Linked DNA regions of Homo sapiens: regions 1 and 2 are each linked to region 3. Evidence: promoter capture Hi-C in human tissues and cell types (Jung and others, 2019). All regions are on one chromosome and are shown on one strand. Each heading gives the region's core, a stretch centred on a gene start or on the middle of the fragment in contact. The rest is flanking DNA. Distances are from core to core; before and after follow the strand shown. Region 1 overlaps CDH1 (cadherin 1). Region 2 has its middle 20 kb from the start of CDH3. Region 3 holds the start of HAS3 (hyaluronan synthase 3).

Evidence for each region. The method cuts DNA at HindIII sites, captures the fragments that hold promoters and counts their contacts. A contact is called where the count stands out against the background at its distance.
Region 1: a fragment that was not itself captured here is called in contact with the fragment with the promoter of HAS3 in region 3 in 2 of the 25 tissues and cell types used here (dorsolateral prefrontal cortex and mesenchymal stem cells).
Region 2: a fragment that was not itself captured here is called in contact with the fragment with the promoter of HAS3 in region 3 in 2 of the 25 tissues and cell types used here (dorsolateral prefrontal cortex and lymphoblastoid cells).

Annotation. Positions count from the first base shown.
Region 1 is chr16:68,795,323-68,798,244 of GRCh38, reverse strand. All of the region lies in intron 2 of CDH1 (cadherin 1), which reads right to left. Among named protein-coding and RNA genes, the nearest start is that of TANGO6, 47 kb to the left of the region's middle. RefSeq lists enhancers at 2,039-2,539, 2,540-2,922. The HindIII fragment of the contact is 4,503 bases long and covers 1-2,922 here.
Region 2 is chr16:68,623,876-68,626,792 of GRCh38, reverse strand. No RefSeq gene overlaps it. Among named protein-coding and RNA genes, the nearest start is that of CDH3, 20 kb to the left of the region's middle. The HindIII fragment of the contact is 4,710 bases long and covers 1-2,917 here.
Region 3 is chr16:69,104,277-69,107,087 of GRCh38, reverse strand. It overlaps HAS3 (hyaluronan synthase 3), which reads right to left and starts at 1,435. Exons shown (of 4, transcript NM_001199280.2): 1 at 1,301-1,435. RefSeq lists a silencer at 809-1,088 and an enhancer at 1,222-1,770. The HindIII fragment of the contact is 9,378 bases long and covers 1-2,811 here.

The sequences.
Region 1 (2,922 bases), core at 33-2,532, 310 kb after region 3:
AACAAAAATAAAGCTAACAAGGGTCTAAGTGTTCTTTAACCCAGTATGCCCACCTTTCATAAACTTATTTGGTGACTTGGTGTAAAAACCAAATCCCAACAAAAGAAGCTAAGACCCCACTCCCCACTACTGGCCATCTCCATGTGGGAAAGTCTTTTTTTTTTTTGAGACAGAGTGTCACTCTGTCACCCAGGCTGGAGTGCAATGGTGCAATCTGGGCTCACTGCAACCTCTGCCTCCCAGATTCAAGCAATTCTCCTGCTTCAGCCTCCCGAGTAGCGGGGATTACAGGTGCACACCACCACGCCCAGCTAATTTTTGTATTTTTAGTAGAGACAAGGTTTCACCATGTTGGCCAGGCTGGTCTCGAACTCCTGACCTCAAGTGATCTGCCCGCCTCTGCCTCCCAAACTGCTGGGATTATAGGTGTGAGCCACTGTGCCCAGCTGGGAAAGTCTTTTCATTACAATATCATCACCATCATCAAAAACTGCAGCCTCAACTAAGCTTCAATTAGCTTTTATGAACTATTTTATTCAGATTTTATTTAATTTTATTTGTGTGCTTTTTGAGACAGGTCTCTGTCACCTAGGGTGGAATGCAGTGGTGCAAACACTGCTCACTGCAGCCTTGGCTTTCGGGGCTCAAGCAATCCTCCTGCTTCAGCCTCCTGAGTAGCTGGGGCTACAGGTACATGCCACCATGCCTGGCTAATTTTATTTATTGTAGAGATGGGGTCTGACTACGTTGCCCAGGCTGCTCACAAACTCCTGGGCTCAAGCCATCTTCCCGCTTTGGCCTCCCAAAGTGCTGGGATTACAGAAGTGAATGACTGAGCCCAGCCTCATTTTAATTTTTTGAGAAAGGGTTTTACTCTGTCACCCAGGCTAAAGTGCAGTGGCACAAACGCTAGCTCACCGCAGCCTCAGCTTCCTGGGCTCAAACCATCCTCCCACCTCATCCTCCAGAGTAGCTGAGACTACAGGTGTACTCCACCGCAGCAAATTTTTAATTATTGTTTGTAGGGACAGGGTCTCGCTATGATGCCAAGCCTGGTCATGAACTTCTGACCTCAGGTGATCCACCTGCCTCAGCCTCCCAAAGTTCTGGGATTACAGGCATGAGCCATCATGCTTGGCCTATTTTATTAGTATTTTAAACATGTGTAGAATATTAATGTGCCATGCTCTATTTTAAGCATGTGCTGCCACACCCAGCTAATTTTTGTATTTTTTGTATTTCAGCAAAAAATGTAATTTTATGTTTACAGGACTAGATGGGGTTTTGCCACGTTGCCCAGGCTGGTCTTGAACTCCTGGCCTCAAGCGATCCACCAACCTCAGCCTCCCAAAGTGCTGGGATTACAGATACAAGTATTGTGCCTGGCCAGGAGGCAGTTTGAAAACAACAACAACATATTTTCCTTATATATCCTTGTATTACTTGGCCTGTTACAATTAGAATGAATTCTTTTTTTTTTCATGACAAAAACTAGTAAGAATGACTTTTAAAAAGTGTTTTTAATACTCTGTCATCCCTGCATGCTGCTATTAAACCTACGGTGCCCCACTTTCTAGCCTACTGGGCAAAAGTAGCTTTCAAGAGAGGACCCCAAGAGAGATGACTGATGTTCAAATACAAATGAAACCCAAGTTCATGAAAAGCTTTTGGTCCTGGGGCAGGCTCTGAGCATTCAGCAACATTCCTTGCTTGAAATTGCCATCATGCCACACGGAACAGTCCCACTTTGACGATCCCGTTTCTTCTCCCACGCCCGCCTGGTCCCATAACTGGAATGTGAGTGGGTAGAAACAAGACAGTCTCAAAAGCTTCTATATTATTTTCAGACGATGTTGGGATTTAAGGACAGGGCCAGCTATGGAAGGCAGCAAACCATAGTTGAGTTGTTTGGTAACCAGTGGGATAACCTAGTATCTTAGACGTAACTAGTTGGAAGCAGTGTTTTGCCCACCCTGCATACAAAGGGGCACATTATGGATTGCCTCCCTCTCATCAGAACACATTTCCCACAGCGAACACCAAAGAATACTGCATTTAGCAATTCTTTTTTTTTTGTTTTTAAAGACAGAGTCTCGCACTGTCACCCGGGCTGGAGTGCCATGGCAGGATCTCAACTCACTGCAACCTCCACCTCCCGGGTTCAAGCCATTCTCCTGCCCCAGCCTCCCGAGTAGCTGGGATTACAGGTGCCTGCCACCACGCCCGGCTAATCTTTTGTATTTTTAGTAGAGACGGGGTTTCACTATGTTGGCCAGGATAACCTCGAACTCCTGACCTTGTGATCCGCCTGCCTTGGCCGCCCAAAGTGCTGGGATTACAGGCATAAGCCACCGCACCCGGCCTGCATTTAGCTTTATTCAAAGACCATTTGAACTTGAGAGCTCAGCCTCAGTTACACATAAAAACTGGAGGACAAGATCAGAGAACTGGCTGGGCATGGTGGCTCATGCCTGTAATCCCAGCACTTTGGGAGGCCGAGCCAGGTGGATCACCTGAGGTCAGGAGTTCAAGACCAGCCTGGTCAACATGGTGAAACCCCGTCTCTACTGAAAATACAAAAAATTAGCCAGGCATGGTGGCGGGCACCTGTAATCCCAGCTACTCAGAAGGCCAGGACAGGAGAATTGCTCGAACACAGGAGGCAGAGGTTGCAGTGAGCAGAGATTGCACCATTGCGCTCCAGTGTAGGTGACAGAGCAAAAAAGACTCCATCTCAAAAACAAACAAACAAACAAAAAAATCAGAGAACTAGCCAGGCATGGTGGCTCATACCTGTAATCTCACCATTTTGCGAAGCCAAGGCAGGAGGATCACTTGAGCCCAGGAGTTTGAGACTAGCCTGGGCAACATAGTAAGACCCCATCTCTTAAAATAAAAATAAAAAAAAAGAAATCTAACTTG
Region 2 (2,917 bases), core at 260-2,759, 480 kb after region 3:
GACTCCAGCCAATCGCACTTGGCAATGCTTGGTCATGCACTGGTCACACGGAGCTAACGGTTCTTAATAACACTGATCATGGGAGTTTACAGGCCATTTCCTAGATGCCATGTTTGGGCTGACAAAGCCAGTTTCCCAGAGCATGTATAGTGATGGTTCATAGCAAAGGCTCCGCAATGAGACAAATTCGACTTGGAACCTGGGCTCTGTCTTGTGACCACTGGCAAGTTAGCCTCTCAGTCGCAGTTTTCTCATGCATAGAATAGAGCTAATGCCTACCCTATAGGGTGATTAATGTCTACCCTATAGGGGATTAAATAAAATGCTATTTGCAGAACAATGATCACAGTGCCTAGAACTGGGGAAAAGATCAGTACATAGTAACTGGCATCATTAATAGTAAGGCATATAAAAAACTGAGCACAGTGTCTGGCCCTTAGGGAGTGGTCAAAACACAAAATGATAAAGTTACACTTTTCTTTTTTTTTTTTTTTTGAGATGGAGTCTCGCTCTGTCACCCAGGCTGGAGTGCAGTGGCAGGATCTCGGCTCACTGCAAGCTCCGCCTCCCGGGTTCAGGCCATTCTCCTGCCTCAGCCTCCTGAGTAGCTGGGACTACAGGCGCCTGCAACCACGCCCGGCTAATTTTTTGTATTTTTAGTAGAGACAGGGTTTCACTGTGTTAGCCAGGACGGGCTCGATCTCCTGACCTCGTGATCTGCCCGCTTCCCGAAGTGCTGGGATTACAGGCGTGAGCCACGGCGCCTAGCCAAAGTTACACTTTTCACAAAAAAAGTATCTATGAGACAGAATAAACTTTCCAGACAAGGGCAGAGAATTTGAATTCTGTTGCTAAAAAACAAAAGTAGGTAACTTTGGATGTTGCTACTTGCTCACAACCTGGCTTTCACCTGATTCTACAGCCTAAAGCACCAGGTTCTCTCCTGACGCCTCTTGACCAATCCCATCACATCACTAATAAGCAAACCAAGTTTCCAGAAGCTTCTAGAAAATTCCAACTAAGAAACTGGAGTTTTTGACAAGGAACCAAGACAGGAAATGTCATTGTCCCTCCAAGGCATGGACTGAGACAGGGAGCTAGAAAAGAAACTCACAATAGAAAATAAATGCAATTGGCCGAGCACGGTAGCTCACGACTGTAATCTCAGCACTTTGGGAGGCTGAGGCGAGCGGATCACGAGGTCAGCAGTTTGAGACCAGCCTGGCCAACGTGGTGAAACCCCGTCTCTACTAAAAATACAAAAATTAGCCAGGCATAGTGGAGGGCGCCTGTAATCCCAGCTACTCAGGAGGCTGAGGCAGGAGAATTGCTTAAACCTGGGAGGCGGAGGTTGCAGTGAGCCAAGACTGCACCATTGCAGCCCAGCCTGGGTGACACGGCAAGACTCTGTCTCAAAAAACAAAACAAAAAAAAAAGAAAGAAAATAAATGCAATTGATTATCCCAGGAAGGCAAGGGCATTTCAACAGCAGAAAATCTTTTCATGTAATGCACCATATTCCCTGGTTAACAGAGAAAAATATGATCATCTCAGTATCTGCAGGAAAAATTCATAGTTCGGGCTAGAGGCAAGGTGGCTCATGCCAGTAATCTCAGAACGTTGGGAGACAAAAGTGGGCGGATTGCTTGAGCCCAGGAGTTGAGACCAGTCTGGGCAACATGGTGAAATATCGCCTCTACAAAAAAATACGAAAATTAGCTGAGTGTGGTGGTGTGTGCCTGTTGTCTCAGCCACTCAGGAGGCTGAAGCTGCAGGATGGCTTGAGCCCAGGAGGTCGAGGTTGCAGTGAGTCATGATAGTACCACTATACTCTAGCCTGGGCAACAGAGCAAGAAAAGAGTCTCCAAAAAAAAATAAAAGAACATGCAGAAAGGACATAAACTACCTCTTAGAGTGTTTGCCTCTTGGAAGGCAATAAGATTTTTATTTTATTTCTGAATAGAAATTGAGAAGGAGGGCTGGGCACGGTGGCTCACGCCTGTAATCTCAGCACTTTGGGAGGCTGAGGCGGGTGAATCACCTGAGGTCAGGAGTTCGAGACCAGTCTAACTAACATGGTGAAACCCCATCTCTACTAAAAATAAAAAATTAGCCAGGCGCAGTGGCATGTGCCTATAATCCCAGCTACTTGGGAGACTGAGGCAGGAGAATCGCTTGAACCTCGGAGGTAGAGGTTGCAGTGAGCCGAGATCGTACCATTGCACACCAGCCTGGGCAACAGAGCAAGACTCTAGACTCTGTCTCAAACAAACAAACAAACAAAAGAAAGAAAGAAAAGAAATTGAGAAGGAGGTCAGGTGCAGTGGCTCGCACCTGTAATCCCTTCATATAACAATGATTTTACAATATTCTCTGTAGAGAGAGCAGAAAAATAATTTAGTCTTTTTTCTAGAATGGTTGAACAAAAACTATTGATTAGTATTAGCAGTTTAGAAAAGTTTAACATTATTGATAAGTAAATTTTTATTATTTTATATGCATTTCAAAATTTATATATATATATATATATTTTTTTTTTTTTGAGACAGAGTCTCGCTCTGTTGCCCAGGCTGGAGTGCAGTGGCGTGATCTCAGCTCACTGCAACCTCTGCCTCCCGGGTTCAAGTGATTCTCCTGCCTCAGCCTCCTGAGTAGCTGGGATTACAGGTGCGTGCCACCATGCCTGGCTAATTTTTTTGTATTTTTAGTAGAGTTGGGGTTTCACCATGTTGGTCAGGCTGGTCTTGAACTCCTGACCTTGTGATCTCCCCGCCTCAGCCTCCCAAAGTAAATTTTTTTTTTACAGTAAAAAATGAGAGGTCAGGAGTGGTGGCTCACACCTGTAATTCCAGCACTTTGGGAGGCCAAGGTGGGAGGATTGCTTGAGCCCAGGAGTTCTAAACCAGTCTAGGCAACA
Region 3 (2,811 bases), core at 186-2,685:
CGCTCATCCACGGGAGCCCAGCCCAGGCAAACTAACGCGCACTCGGCTTTCAAGGGCACAAGGTTGGGGGCGCTCTCAAGTCCGGCTCCCAGGACTACGGAAGGAGAACCCCCAGTCAAGGACGCACGCTTCTCCATCAAGCCTCCGAAACTTTGAGGGGCTGCTGGTGTGCAGCGTCTCTCCCGCTGACAGGTGCGCCCCGCGGCAGGGCCACACGCAGCGGCATGGAAACTTGTGCGCCCAACGGGGCTCCTCCTCTTGTGCCCGGCCGCCCTCCGGGCCCCTCCAGGCCGGCCAGGGGAGGGGAGCCCACTCCCCCGGACACGTGCTGCCGCGGCCCGGCTAACCCGCAGGAACGTGGGCGCCTGGTACCTTGGTGCCCGGACAGGTGCAAACCCCCGGGAGGTCGTAGAAGGTGCGGGGGAGGGGTACCCCAGCCAGCCTGGAGCCCCGCACCGGCGTCCGCCTCCTAATTCATTCACAAAACAGGAGCCGCCGGGGAGGAGGGAGGCGAGGCTGGAAGAGGAGAGGATGCAGGAAGAAAGGGAGGAGGGGTCAGTGGGGAGGGGGCTGCAGGAACGGCCGCCGGGAAGCCCGGGGCTGCCGCCGCCCCCAACCCGCCTCCCCGCGCCGGACGCGGCGCCCGCAGGGCTGGGAGCTGGCCGGGTGCGGGGGGCTCGGCGAGAGGCACCCCTGCCACCCGGCGCGCCCCGGCCTCGGCGCAGCCCCGCGCGGCCCTCCCCTCCTGGGTGCCGGCCGGCCCGCGCTCACCGTGCCGCCGGCTGCCGCGCTCCGGAGCTCAGCAGGCCCGCGGCGGCTCCATGCCCCTCCTCCCGCTCCGCTCCGCGCCGCCGCGCGCTCCGACTGCCGCCTGCCCAGCCGAGCCGCCCTTAAGTACCCGGCGCGTGCCCGCCAGGAGAGGCGCCTCCCCCGGCCCTGGGGCCGGGAAAGTTGACCAGAGTGGGAGGGCCCCCGCGGGCGCACCCCCGACCCCGCGCGGTCCCAGGGAGCGCCACAAGCCAGCGCTCGGCGGGGACGCCTAGTCCCGGGTGGACGCGGCTCCGGCTCGCAAGACTCGCAGCCCCTGCGCCCTCTCCGAAGCTGGGTCCCCCGAGTGGGGCCGAAGGCCACGCGGCTCTGCAATCGCCCTGGGACCAGCTGCCAAGGCAAGACGGTCATTGGGCTCAACCTAGAACCTGAAGCGTCGTTAACTTTCCAGATACCACGCAGGGACTTCCAAAATTGTTACTCTCCCTCCCCGCCCCCACGCCCCGCTCTCTAACCCGCAAAACCTACTCACCCTGCAAGGAAGGCGAGCTGAGAGCACTCTTCCCCGACTTCTGCACGCGAAGGGGCAGTTCGCTGTCTAGGGGGCTCCCGAAAGCCAAGGCAGCAAAACCTTCCTGCTGGCAGGAAAGAGGCGCTGAAGAGAATTGTCAAATGTAAAAAGGCTGGTCAAAGAAGGTGTTAACAATTGTGACAGCTTAGCTTTGAATTCCGCAGTGGGGCGCTGATGACTTTAAGGCGGTTTGCAAAAGCTGCAAACGGTTTTGTAGGAACCTTGGAGGTTCCGGTGTCTTAAAGCCAAAACAATTCCTCCTCTTCTTTTTCACACCTTTATTTCCGACATCCATGACCTCCTAAATTCCCAACTGACCTTATCGACAGTAGTTTTCAGGTCCCTAAAAGATAGTGCTAGACTCGAGTAAAGTGAGATGAAGTGAGTTGGGGTGCACTGGGGTGGGGTGAGATCGAGGAGGGGGGAGAGTTGTTAGCAGAGACAAGAAGTTTAGAACCAGCTGAAGGCGATGAGTTTTTACATCTCAGGAAAACTTGAAGAGAAATTATAATTAATAACTAGTTTTTAAAAAATGAGTGGCCGGGCGCCGTGGCTCAAGCCTGTAATCTCAGCACTTTCGGCGTTACGGGCACCATGCCCGTAATCCCAGCTACTCGGGAGGCTGAGGCAGGAGAATCGCTTGAACCCCGCAGGTGGAGGTTGCAGTGAGCTGAAATCGCACCACTGCACTCCAGCTTGGGCAGCAGAGCGAGACTCCGTCTCCAAAAAAAAAAAAAAAAAAAAAAAAAAAAAAAACCAAAAAACAGAGTTTACCTGTTTTCCAAATACACCTGATATAATTTCTATCACTTCTTCCCAAGCTGCAACAAATTTATAGGCACCTGAGCTGCAGTCTATAAACTTCTCCTCTCGCAAGTTTTAGGGGCTCAGGGACTTGCCTGCCCACCATTGCTCAGTCTGGGCCACAGACCTCACACCTCAGTCCCCGCAGGCAAGCAAAGACCCCAGGCACACCTACTCCACACAATCCCATCTTACATTATTGGCCAGGCACAGTGGCTCACACCTGTAGTCCCAGCACTTTGGGAGGCTGAAGATGGAGGATCGCTTGAGGCCAGGAGTTCAAGACCAGCCTGGGCAACAAAGCGAGACTTCCCCCGTCTCTACAAAAATTAAAATTAAAAAATTAGCCAGGGCCGGGTGCAGGCTCACGCCTGTAATCCCAACACTCTGGGAGGCCGAGGTGGGCGGATCACGAGGTCAGAAGTTAGAGACCAGCCTGGCTAATATGGTGAAACCCTATCTCTACTAAAAAATACAAAAATTAGCCAGGCATGGTGGCACGTGCCTGTAGTCCCAGCCACTGGGAAGGTTGAGGCAGAAGAATCGCTTAAACCCAGGAGACAGAGGTTGCAGTGGGCCAAGATTATGCCACTGTACTCCAGCCTGGGCGACAGAGTGAGACTCCATCTCAAAAAATAAAAATAAAAAAAAAAAGAAAAAGAAAAGAA